4 separate regions of the Homo sapiens genome follow, and regions 1, 2 and 3 are each linked to region 4. Evidence: promoter capture Hi-C in human tissues and cell types (Jung and others, 2019). All regions are on one chromosome and are shown on one strand. Each heading gives the region's core, a stretch centred on a gene start or on the middle of the fragment in contact. The rest is flanking DNA. Distances are from core to core; before and after follow the strand shown. Region 1 holds the start of LOC124904008 (a long non-coding RNA gene). Region 2 has its middle 35 kb from the start of SOST. Region 3 has its middle 60 kb from the start of LINC00910. Region 4 holds the start of DHX8 (DEAH-box helicase 8).

Region 1 (2,700 bases), core at 173-2,672, 130 kb after region 4:
GGAGACAGGATGGAGTTTTTAAAAATCGTAAACTACAAAGAGTAGTCAACGGCAAAATAGAACCCAAGAAATGAAGCAGAAAGCAATCAAGTTTCCATCACAGAGATACCTCGCCCCATCATGGCCATTACCCAGGGCAGTGTGATTGGGCTTTGCCCAGGGGGCTGGAAATTTAGAGGATATGGAATTTAAAACAATAATTGCGGAAAGTGATGAAAGTGAAACTGTTGTGACATTTTTAACATTTTGACAGCACATGCACCCCTGCATGACACAGAAACAAAGGGATTTGGCCCTTCCATAGGAAGCTTCCAGAAGGCCTGTGGTTAATAACACCTCCTTCATGATTCCTAGATGGAAAACCAAAGTTGGTTTGAGGGTGTGTTTCAGACCCTTGCCTGAGGCAGCCGAAGTGCCAGTTAGAGCTCTGTGTCCTACCAAAGGTGACTCACCCCATGGACTCTGCACCTTTTCACTCTCACCTTTCAGAATTTCCAACTATTCCGATTTCATGGCCACTTTTATGGAGCTTCTTGATCCGCAAACTTCAGGCTACTTCCCTCCAACCCACATCATCTTATCTCCTGCCCTCTCTGACCTGGGCTCCTGGCCATGACATTTCTTTCTTGGCCAAGACCAGGAAAGTTCCCCCTAACTCTCTGGAACCCTTCTTCATCATGCCAGGTTCCATTCACAGTGACTTGTGTCATCCCTAGACCATTGCCAGGAATCTGATGATGAGTCCAAGAAATAACCTGTGACCCATATTTTCCAGAGTCCTGCAGGAATTTGACATTTGTAGATCTCAAAGTCTCACAATTGCTTTTTTTTTTTTTTTTTTTGTCTTTTTTAGATGGTCTTGCTCTTGCTCTGTCGCCCAGGCTGGAGTGCAGTGGTGCAAACTTGGTTTACTGCAGTCTTAAGTCTTAACCTCCTGTGCTCAAGTGATCCTCCTGCCCCAGCCTCCCAAAGTGCTGGGATTACATGCATGAGCCCCCATGCCCAGCCCAACAATTTCTTAATTATACTATAGCCTTTGCTTCCACAGGAAGGAAGGGAGGAAGAAATTATTTTTTTTTCCGAGACGGAGTCTCGCTGTGTCGCCCAGGCTGGAGTGCAGTGGCGTGATCTCGGCTCACTGCAAGCTCCACCTCCCGGGTTCCCACCATTCTCCTGCCTCAGCCTCCTGAGTAGCTGGGACTACAGGCACCTGCCACCGTGCCCGGCTCATTTTTTTGTATTTTTAGTAGAGACCGGGTTTTACCGTGTTAGCCAGGATGGTGTCGATCTCCTGACCTCCTGATCTGCCCGCTTCGGCCTCCCAAAGTGCTGGCATTACAGGCGTGAGCCACCGCGCCCGGCCGGGAGGAAGAAATATTAAGGGAACATCTAGTATGTGCTAGATATTTTCCTATTTTCTTTCTCATCTAGCTGCAAGATCATATGATAACATGAGACAGCAGAGAGGAGAAGACCCCTGTCTCACAGCCAGTAAGTGGTAGGGCTGAGGTTTGAACTCGGGTTTCTCCAACTCCAAAGCCTGGGCTCTTTCCTTCATGCAGTCTCCACACAAGAACTTGCACAGGTGCTCAAGGGTGCTGAGGAGGAGTGTTTGGTTGAAGATGCAAGAAGAGAGAGAGATTAAATGGGAGTGGGCTTAGATGAGGGAGGAAGAAGATGATGGGGAAGGAAGGTGGCAGACGGACTGAGTGATGGAGAAGGGAGGTGGGGGAGGGAAGGGTCACAGGGTTCTGCTTTGACAGGGATTTGGGATCCCAAGAATGGAGCTTTTTTTCCACACTGTGCCTTGCTGGAATCACCTCACGTCCCCACATGCGATGAGCTCATCCTTCTCTTGGCACCACCTGCCTCTCATCTTGGCCCTGGCTGGGACGCACCAACGTTTCTGCAGGAGGAATAAAGCAATAACAGGAATCTCATTTTTCTCCTTAAAATAATATCTCTCTGTTCTGCCAGCAAGCAGGGAGCTACTCCTGCCAGCACTCCAGTGGGAAGCCTGTTCCCAATCCGATAGGATTAGTCTGATACTGGCTTCCCAGGAGCCCCCAGTAGCCAAGGCAGCCCTCAGGTGACCTTGAGCTCCTGGCTACAGATCCCCTGATGTCCTTCTCAGCCCCCAGATAGTCACTCACCTCCATGCCTCCATCCCAGGCTCTCCAGGGCAAAGGGATGCTATTCTCACTAGTCCCAGGCTCCCCTAGCTGGTAGCTCCTTCACCATCTCTCTAGGACCTAACCAATTTCCTACAAGGAAAGGATCACTGGAAAAACCATTTTGAACAGGAAGAATTTAATTTTTTTGCAACAGGCTTTCCCCTCTTTAAAGAAAAGAAAGAAAAAAGAGTCCTCATTTACCTAAAGGTCTGAGTGCCTGGAAATTTCTTCCCTGTGTGCACATTACCCACTTCCTGGCTGCAGGGATGGAAGGACTCGGAGAATTCGAAGGATATTAAACAGATTCATAATGGACTCAGCAGTATAAACATGTCTCAAGTGCAGACAGAAATGCCACAAGCTCCTACTTGGTTTAATGAAAACATACACCAGTTGTGTCTGTGTTCCCATTTTACAAATAAACAAGGTGGGGAGATGGACTCGGAAATTGTCCCTGGGGAGCCAGGTGCCTCTGTTCATTGCAATTTCAATGGCTTCTCCTGCCCACAAACAACTCGGAAAAGAA
Region 2 (2,700 bases), core at 82-2,581, 240 kb after region 4:
GCCTGGATTCAGCCTCCATTTGCACCTTCTGCTAGGTGCTTTTGTGCAGTGCACAACTCACACAACCTCACATGGCTGCCCTGCCTGCCTAAGCTGGCCATCAGCTGCTTGTTGCCATACTGAAAAAGAGGGTTTGGTTTTGCCTCGCCTTGCTTTTTCAATAGAAGCCAGAAACTTGAATTTTTATGTAAAAATTTCCAATTTGTCAAATGCCATTGTAGCCAAACAAAAATCTAGCCTCAGGCTGGATCCACCATAGAGTTTCAGTTTGAGACCCCGATGGGAACCAGTCCCCTGGGCACATGCTGCTCTCTCTCCTCCATACCATGCAACACAGTCCTTTGCTGAGATTTGACAAGGGAAACACAGTCATAGATGAAACCCCCTACAGCTGCTGCAAAGCCCTTCAGAAACATGAGATTGGCCTCTGAACCAGAGGAAAGTAACGTGGGGCTGTACAACAGCAGCCAGCCTGTGAGACTGATGGATAAAGCTTTAATTTATCGGTGCACCTTGTTTGGAGAAAGCTTCCCTGCCCTCTTGGCTGCCCCCACCTCCAACCCCTCCTGTTTTGCTAATGATAAATGACAAGCAGTGGACATTTATTAATTAAACCACCCGCTGTAGCCATTGGTAAAACCCAAGGCCACATGCAGGGGAAGCATTCAAAGCATTCCTGCTGCCCCTGCCCAGGGCACAGGCCCCAGGGTTATCCTTTGCTGGAGAGAGCAGGCCACGGCGGCCACAGCCTCACATGATGGGCCTTCCTAGGATCTGTCTGGGTTCTGGCTGATAAATGGAAATCACCTCCATGGGCCACACAGTAATTAAACTCCTGGCATTCTTTTGACAAAAAAAAAGTTCCTCATGGGACATTCCCACAAGCTGCTGAAGGTCTGGGCCCTGCAAGCTCCCAGCTGATTACCAAGGAGTTTTCGAAGTTGGCCTTGACTGAGGATCAAAGGAGGATGGGAGTTCAGGGAATGAGGGTGGGGGTGGGAAATGCCTTAGAATTAAGTTGATGATGGCCTGTTGCGGTGGCTTATGCCTCTAATCTCAGTGCTTTGGGAGGCTGAGGCGGGAAAATCACTTGAGCCCAGGAGTTTGAGACCAGCATGGACAACATGGTGAGACCTTTTCTTAACAAAAAATTTAAAAATTAGCCTGGTGTGGTGGCACATGCCTGTGGTCCCATCTACACGAGGAGGCTGAGGTGCTAGGATTGCTTGAGTCCAGGAGGTTGAGGATGCAGTGAGCTGTGTTTGCACCACTGCACTTCAGCCTGGTGAAGGAGGAGACCCTGAGACAGAAGGAGACCCTGTCTCAAAAAAAAGTTGATCATTTGGATGTTCGGCCTGAAACACCCACATTTATTTCCCCAGGACCGAGATGGGCAGAGAGATAAAAGCAGGCCTTCAAGGCTCATTTATTTATATTTCTACTGTTTATTTGTTCCACTGATGTACCCCAAGTACCTAAAACAGAGCCTGGAACATAGTAGGTGCTCAGTAAATATTTGTTGACTGATTAGCTGGAGATGTGCTCATGTCTTTTTAACGAAAGCAGTAATCAGGAGAAATTCCTAATTAAGGTCCTAGAACCAGTGGCTTCTAATTGTTTGCTGCCACAGGATTGTAAACATGTTGAAGATGAGGCCAGTGTCTTATTCAATTGACTGTCCCCAGAAGCAGGCACAGTGCCCAGCCTAGGGCCTACACACCGTGGTTTCTCAACGATATCAATTGTCTGAATGACTCAGGGGTAAACCATTTTTCAGTGCTGGGTCAGGCAGAGCCCCACTGGGACGTGACCTGCACACACTTTGGCAGTCCCCTGGGATGCAGTGGTAGCAGCAGCAGAGTCATAAAGCCTGGGGATCAGAGCCACACTGGATATCACAGCTGGAAAGGCCTGAGATCTCAGCCAGTCCCTTGCTAAGCAGAAAGAAGAAATGAATTAGCTACAAATCTTGGGGCCTCTAAAAACACAGCTTCATTTTTCTGTTTCTCCTATAGACTCCCCATTCTGTCCAACTGCCAAAAACATTTAAGTTTATTTAATAATCAATGTCAGCTGAAGTTGGTCATATCAGACTTAAATTCAATCTATTCCCAGTTGCCTCAACTTCCCTTGTCAGGTCATCTACTTAGTTCTAGTGGCTTCTGTGCCATAGGAGGGGGAGCTGGAGGAGGGGGAGAGCCGAGCCATGGTCATCAGTATCTGTCTTCACTAACCTCTTGGGCATGGTCACCCCATTTTGTTGGTGTCTGCTAAATCCACATCTTTTTTTTCTGTAGTAATTAGCCCACACACTCTGTGTCCTCCTGACTCTGCAGCTGAGGCCCTCCCAGCCCACCAGGCCCTGCCCAGCACCTTCCATGCCTTCCTTGGAAGTGTTGGAAAACTAGCTGGCCCCTCATACTATAGGGACCCAGGGAAGTTCTGATTGACCCTGGGTGCCATGATAGAACAGGACTCCACCCACTCAGCATTCCAGATAAACAGTGGACACAGTCTCCTTTGCACTCCTATTTTCCCAACTGGTTGGGAGGATTCTGTTGGTGCCTGCTCCCCACCCTATTGGGATCTCTGTCTCCCTGGTGAGCTGTGTATGTGCATGATGGTGAGGGTCTCCAGCAACAAGGAAAGGAGTTACATTTGTCCATATTCACACTGCTATAAAGAAATACCTGAGACTGG
Region 3 (2,700 bases), core at 135-2,634, 150 kb before region 4:
CTAATGTATCAGCGCTGGCATTTGCTGCTGAGAGAGGTCGGGGAAGGGCATGTGAGCCCGAACGTGAGTAATGTAGAAGGGAGAAGACCTTGCTCTGAGTAGGGACTGAAACTTTTGGAAAAGAAAAAGTGGTTATCATCAGGCAGAAATGTGTTTAAGGCAGTTTCAATGTTGCAAGCAACACCTGCTGCGTACACCAAATCAGAAACTATGTTAACTGGTTCAGGGAAATATTCAAGAACAGCCATGACAGCAGTCAGCTCAGCTTGTTGTGCTGAAGTAGCTCCTGAGTTAAGGACACATTCTTTTGGCCCTGCATATGCTCCTTGGTCATTACAGGAAGCATCAGTAAAAACAGTGACAGCTTCAGCTAATGGAGTATCCATAGTAATGTTAGGTAAGATCCAAGAAGTAAGTTTAAGGAACTGAAATAGTTTTACATTAGGATAATGATTGTCAATTATACCCAGGAAACCTGCCAAATGTACTTGGCAAGCAATGCAGGTTGCAAAAGCCTGTTGGACTTGTAATCAGGTGAGGGAAACAATGATTTTTTGGGGCTCTGTACCCAAAAGATGAAGAAGGTGAGAAAGAGCTTGACCAATTAGGATAGAAATTTGATCTAGATAAACGGTAAGCGTCCGTAAAGAGCTGTGTGGAAGAAAGCACTATTCAATTAAATTATGTCCCTGGATAATGAGTCCTGTTGGTGAATGTTTAGTAGGAAAGATTAGTATTTCAAAAGGTAAATATGGATTCGCCCTGGTTACCTGAGACTGTTGAATGCGTTTTTCTATAAGTTGTAATTCAGAATCTGCCTCAGGGGTCAAAGACCTTTTGTTGCATAAATCAGGATTGCCCCATAATGTTGCAAACAGATTAGACATAGCATATGTAAGAATGCCTAAGGAGGGGCAAATCCAATTAATATCTCCAAGCATTTTTTGGAAATCATTTAGCGTTTTTAGAGAGTCTCATCTGAGTTGAACCTTTTGGGGCTTAATAACCTTGTCTTCTAGCTGCATTCCTAAATATTGATAAGGAGAAGAAGTTTGGATTTTTTCTGGAGCGACAGCCAAACCAGCTGTTGCAACTGCTTGTCGTACTGCAGAGAAACAAGATATTAATACAGAACGTGAAGGCACTGCACAAAGAATATCATCCATGTAATGAATGATAAAAAATTGGGGAAATTGATCTCTTACTGGCTTTAATATGCTCCCCACGTAATATTGACAAATGGTAGGCTATTAAGCATTCCCTGAGGTAGGACTTTCCAATGGTAACGTGCTGTGGGAGCGATGTTGTTAAGGGTTGGAACTGTGAAAGCAAATTTTTCAAAGTCCTGAGGGGCCAGAGGAATGTTGAAGAAGCAGTCTTTAAGATCAATGATGATAAGAGGCCAATACTTGGGAATCATAGCGGGGAAAGGCAAGCTGGGTTGTAATGTCCCCATAGGCTGAAGGACAGCACTTACTGCCCTAAGATCAGTAAGCATTCTCCACTTACCGGATTTCTTTTGGATAACAAAGACAGGTGAATTCCAGATAGAAAAAGATTGCTCGATGTGTCCCAATTTTAACTGTTCAAGGATCAAAATATGGAGTGCCTCCAGCTTATTTTTAGGGAGCGGCCACTGATTTACCCAAACCGGTTTCTGAGTTTTCCAAGTCAAGGGGATGGGATTTGGAGGCTTGATAGTGACCACTTCTAAAAAGAATAACCAAGTCCCGTAAAATCTGATTTATGGGTAGGTATAATAGGCTCGGTGATGCCTTGTGCTGATTTCCCTAAGCCCATAACTTGAACAAATCCCATTTTTGTCATAATGTCTTTACTTTGCTGGCTGTAATTGCCTTGTGGAAAAGAAATCTGTGCCCCTCGTTGTTGTAAAAGTTCTCTTCCCCACAGGTTAACAGGAATGGGTGTAATGAGGGGGCAAATAGTACCAATCTGTTCTTCTGGGCCCGTACAGTGTAAAATTGTAGAACTTTCATAGACTTCTGAAGCCTGACCAACACCAACTAATGCTGTGGACGCGTGTTCCTTTGGCCAGTGTCGGGGCCATTGATGTAAAGCGATAATGGAGACATCAGCGCCCGTATCAATCATTCCCTCAAACTTCCTTCCTTGAATATGCACAGAGCACACAGGACGAGTGTCAGAAATCTTGCTGGCTCAATAAGCTGCTTTGTCCTGATAGTCTGTGCTACCAAAACCTCCAGTTCTGGTACAAGAACTGGATCCTAAAGGAACGTAAGGGAGTATAAGAAGCTGAGCAATGCGGTCTCCAGCTGCCGTATATCAAGGGACTGCAGAGCTAATGACAATATGAATTTCACCTGAATAGTCAGAATCAATTACACCAGTATGTACTTGAACACCTTTTAAATTTAGGCTTGAGAGATCAAATAGCAAACCGACACTGCCAGTCGGCAAGGGGCCAAAAACACCTGTGGGAACAGCAATAGGTGGCTCTCCAGGTAACAGAGAAATATCTCTGGTACAACAGAGATCTACTGATGCTGAGCCTGTGGTGGCAGGGGACAAGCATTGTACTGAGATTCGTGTTGGGGCAGAGCCATTAGATCCTGTGGCACAAATTGCTGAAGTGGGAATTGGGATGTAGGTTGAATGGATTGGGCTGGCAAGGCGCTCATCTTGCTGGACGCCAGGGGCTCGGAGTTGAGGAATGCCCCA
Region 4 (2,700 bases), core at 89-2,588:
CTGCAACATCCACCTCCCAGGTTCAAGCAATTCTCCCGCCTCAGCCTCCCTAGTAGCTGGGACTACAGGCACATACCATCACGCCCAGCTAATTTTTGTATTTTTAGTACAGACGAGGTTTCACCATGTTGGCCAGAGTGGTCTTGAACTCCTGACCTCAAGTGATCCGCCCGTCTCGGCCTCCCAAAGTGCTGGGATTACAGGGGTGAGCCACAGTGCCCAGCCCCTGGGGGAATAAGTTCTGAGAGGACACAGGAAAACTGGGGATTGAAAAGCAGGTTTTCACAAGAGTGGAGGCAGCTGGCTCTGTGGGTTCCCAGACTAAGGGGATCTGTGCTTGACAGACCAGAGGCCAGTTCTGTGACCATCATCTCAGCCTTGAATTTTTTTTTTTTTTTTTTTGAGACAAAGTCTCACTCTGTCGCCCATGCTGGAGTGTAGTGGTGTGAACTCAGGTCACTCCAACCTCTGCCTCCTGGGTTCAAGCGATTCTTGTGCCTCAGCCTCCCGAGTAGCTGGGACTACAGGCGCCCACCACCACCACGCCCGGCTAAGTTTTCTATTTTTAGTAGAGATGGAGTTTCGCCACGTTGGCCAGGCTGGTCTGGAACTCCTGACCTCAAGTGATCCACCAGCCTCGGCCTCCCAAAGTGCTGGCATTACAGGCGTGAGCCACTGCACCCGGCCTAGCCTTGTGATATTAACAGTAACTGTCATTTGCGGTGTGCCTACTCTGTGTCACACTCCTTGCAGTTATTCCATTTAGGGTAGAGCAACATTATTCTAGTTTACAGATGAGAAAACTAAGGCCCCAGAGATTGATTTGCCCAAGCAGCCAGCTGGCAGTGGAAGTGCCAGTTTCTTCGTGTGTAAAACAAGAGAAGGCAATCTACTGCCTACTGGCTTGTCAAGGGTCACTTGAGATCGGACGACAGGAACCACAAAGAAGTGAGGCCGGGAATTTGCGGATCCACAGTAAAGCAAGTTTGTCTTTTTCCAGACGTGCATTAAGATTCCTTTTTCAAGTGTTCTAAAGCGCAGGCGCAGGCTGTTTTGCGGTTGCCTCCCGGCGCCTCTTGTGCAGGCCGGGGTCGCCCTCTGCCGACCCAGGGCGGGAGCGCGCTGAGTGAACGTTTCCAGGCCTGAGGGCGGGCGGAGATTTTTCTCGCCTGTAGAGGGCGCAGATCGGCGTGCAGAGTAACCCACTCTAGTTGTCCCTTCCTTAAGCACTTCCTGTTTGATCTCTATGATCCATCCTGTTGGGACTTGATTCGTTCCTCAAATTTTCAATTTACCGTAAACAAAGGGGACGCGCGCTGACCCGGAAGTGAAAGCTGGAACCCGGCCGGAGTAGCTCTGAGCGCCGGCTGTGAGGAAGGAGGTTCTGGGCAAGCTATAGCCATGGCTGTGGCTGTAGCCATGGCGGGAGCCTTAATCGGGTCGGAGCCAGGCCCCGCGGAAGAACTTGCCAAACTCGAGTACCTGTCTTTGGTGTCAAAGGTTTGCACTGAGCTGGACAATCACTTGGGGATCAACGACAAGGACCTTGGTGAGCTCGGGGAGGTCCCTGGGACCTCAGTTTGGGATTGAGGGAAGCGGAAGGAGGAAGGAGGAAGGAGAAAGGTGGTTGATGGACCGAAAGTATGTTCGTGTGAATCTGTCTCTCTCTGTCGCAGACACCGGTGCCCAGGGTACACGCTGCCGTGGCCTCGGCTTGAGAGCCCTCGAGAAACTTTAGAAACTTTCCCAGAGCTGTCAGTGAAGCCCGGGGCGGTCATCTCTGCTTGATTGTTTTTTGTTTGTTTTTTCAGCCTCAATTAAACATGTTTAACAACAACAGCAGCAGATGCTGCGATGACGACGATGATGGCTGACGTTTATTGGGTGCTCACTATGTGCTAGATGCGATGCTCAGCTCTTTATTGACATTATTTTATTTGGTCTTCACGCCACTCTGTGACATAGTAGTTAGCGTCTGTGCTTTTAACTGTGTTCTTTGACCGTTCATCCTGTACTCTTTTTTGAGGCAGGGCCTCGCTCTGTTTCCCGGGCTGGAGTGCAGTGGCACGATCTCGGCTCACTGCAGCCTCCACCTCCTGGGCTCAAGCAGTCCTCCCACCTCAGCCTCCCGAGTAGCTGGGACTACAGGCGGGCGCCACCAAGCTCGACTCATTTTTAAATTTTTTGTAGAGACGGGGGTCTCACTGTATTGCCCAGGCTGGTCTCGAACTTCTGGGCTCAAGCAGTCCTCTTCCCTCGGCCTCCCAAAGTGTTGGGATTACAGGCGTGAGCCATTGCGTCCTGTACTATGTCTTAAACACCAGTCACTAGATGTTTTGGGGCAAACTACATCTGGGGAGCCGAAACTGAGGAATTAGAAAAGGCTAGGGTCCTAAAGCTAAAGCCATAGACAGATGGAGCCTTTATGAAGGTACAGAGGATGGATGGGATCAAGGGCAACCAATGGATGGATTGACCTTTGGTACGTACAGCAAGGCTTCTTCAGTTGTAACAGGAGCGAGGACAGAGAATACAGTTGCAGATTCAGATGAGTTTAGAGATTGGTGGTGGGAAGATGAGTGAGAGAGTTCCAGCCCACTCTTCAGTTTCCTAAATGAAGATAAAGTCATCAACCGGAGGGATGGAAGGGAAGGGGCAGGTGACAGGAGGGGTTAGGGAAGTTAGACGAGTGACCTTTGG

What was found. Contacts are between HindIII fragments. The study calls those that stand out against the background at their distance.
Region 1: a contact is called between a fragment that was not itself captured here and the fragment with the promoter of DHX8 in region 4, in 1 of the 25 tissues and cell types used here (thymus).
Region 2: a fragment that was not itself captured here is called in contact with the fragment with the promoter of DHX8 in region 4 in 1 of the 25 tissues and cell types used here (small bowel).
Region 3: a fragment that was not itself captured here is called in contact with the fragment with the promoter of DHX8 in region 4 in 1 of the 25 tissues and cell types used here (spleen).

The regions. Positions count from the first base shown.
Region 1 is chr17:43,612,256-43,614,955 of GRCh38, forward strand. LOC124904008 (a long non-coding RNA gene) reads left to right here and starts at 1,370. Exons shown (of 2, transcript XR_007065763.1): 1 at 1,370-1,491; 2 at 1,764-1,940. The HindIII fragment of the contact is 7,113 bases long and covers 1-2,700 here.
Region 2 is chr17:43,722,387-43,725,086 of GRCh38, forward strand. No RefSeq gene overlaps it. Among named protein-coding and RNA genes, the nearest start is that of SOST, 35 kb to the right of the region's middle. The HindIII fragment of the contact is 4,286 bases long and covers 1-2,700 here.
Region 3 is chr17:43,328,005-43,330,704 of GRCh38, forward strand. No RefSeq gene overlaps it. Among named protein-coding and RNA genes, the nearest start is that of LINC00910, 60 kb to the right of the region's middle. The HindIII fragment of the contact is 8,377 bases long and covers 1-2,700 here.
Region 4 is chr17:43,482,637-43,485,336 of GRCh38, forward strand. It overlaps DHX8 (DEAH-box helicase 8), which reads left to right and starts at 1,339. Exons shown (of 23, transcript NM_004941.3): 1 at 1,339-1,549. The coding sequence starts at 1,402. RefSeq lists enhancers at 1,032-1,874, 1,174-1,603. The HindIII fragment of the contact is 21,666 bases long and covers 1-2,700 here.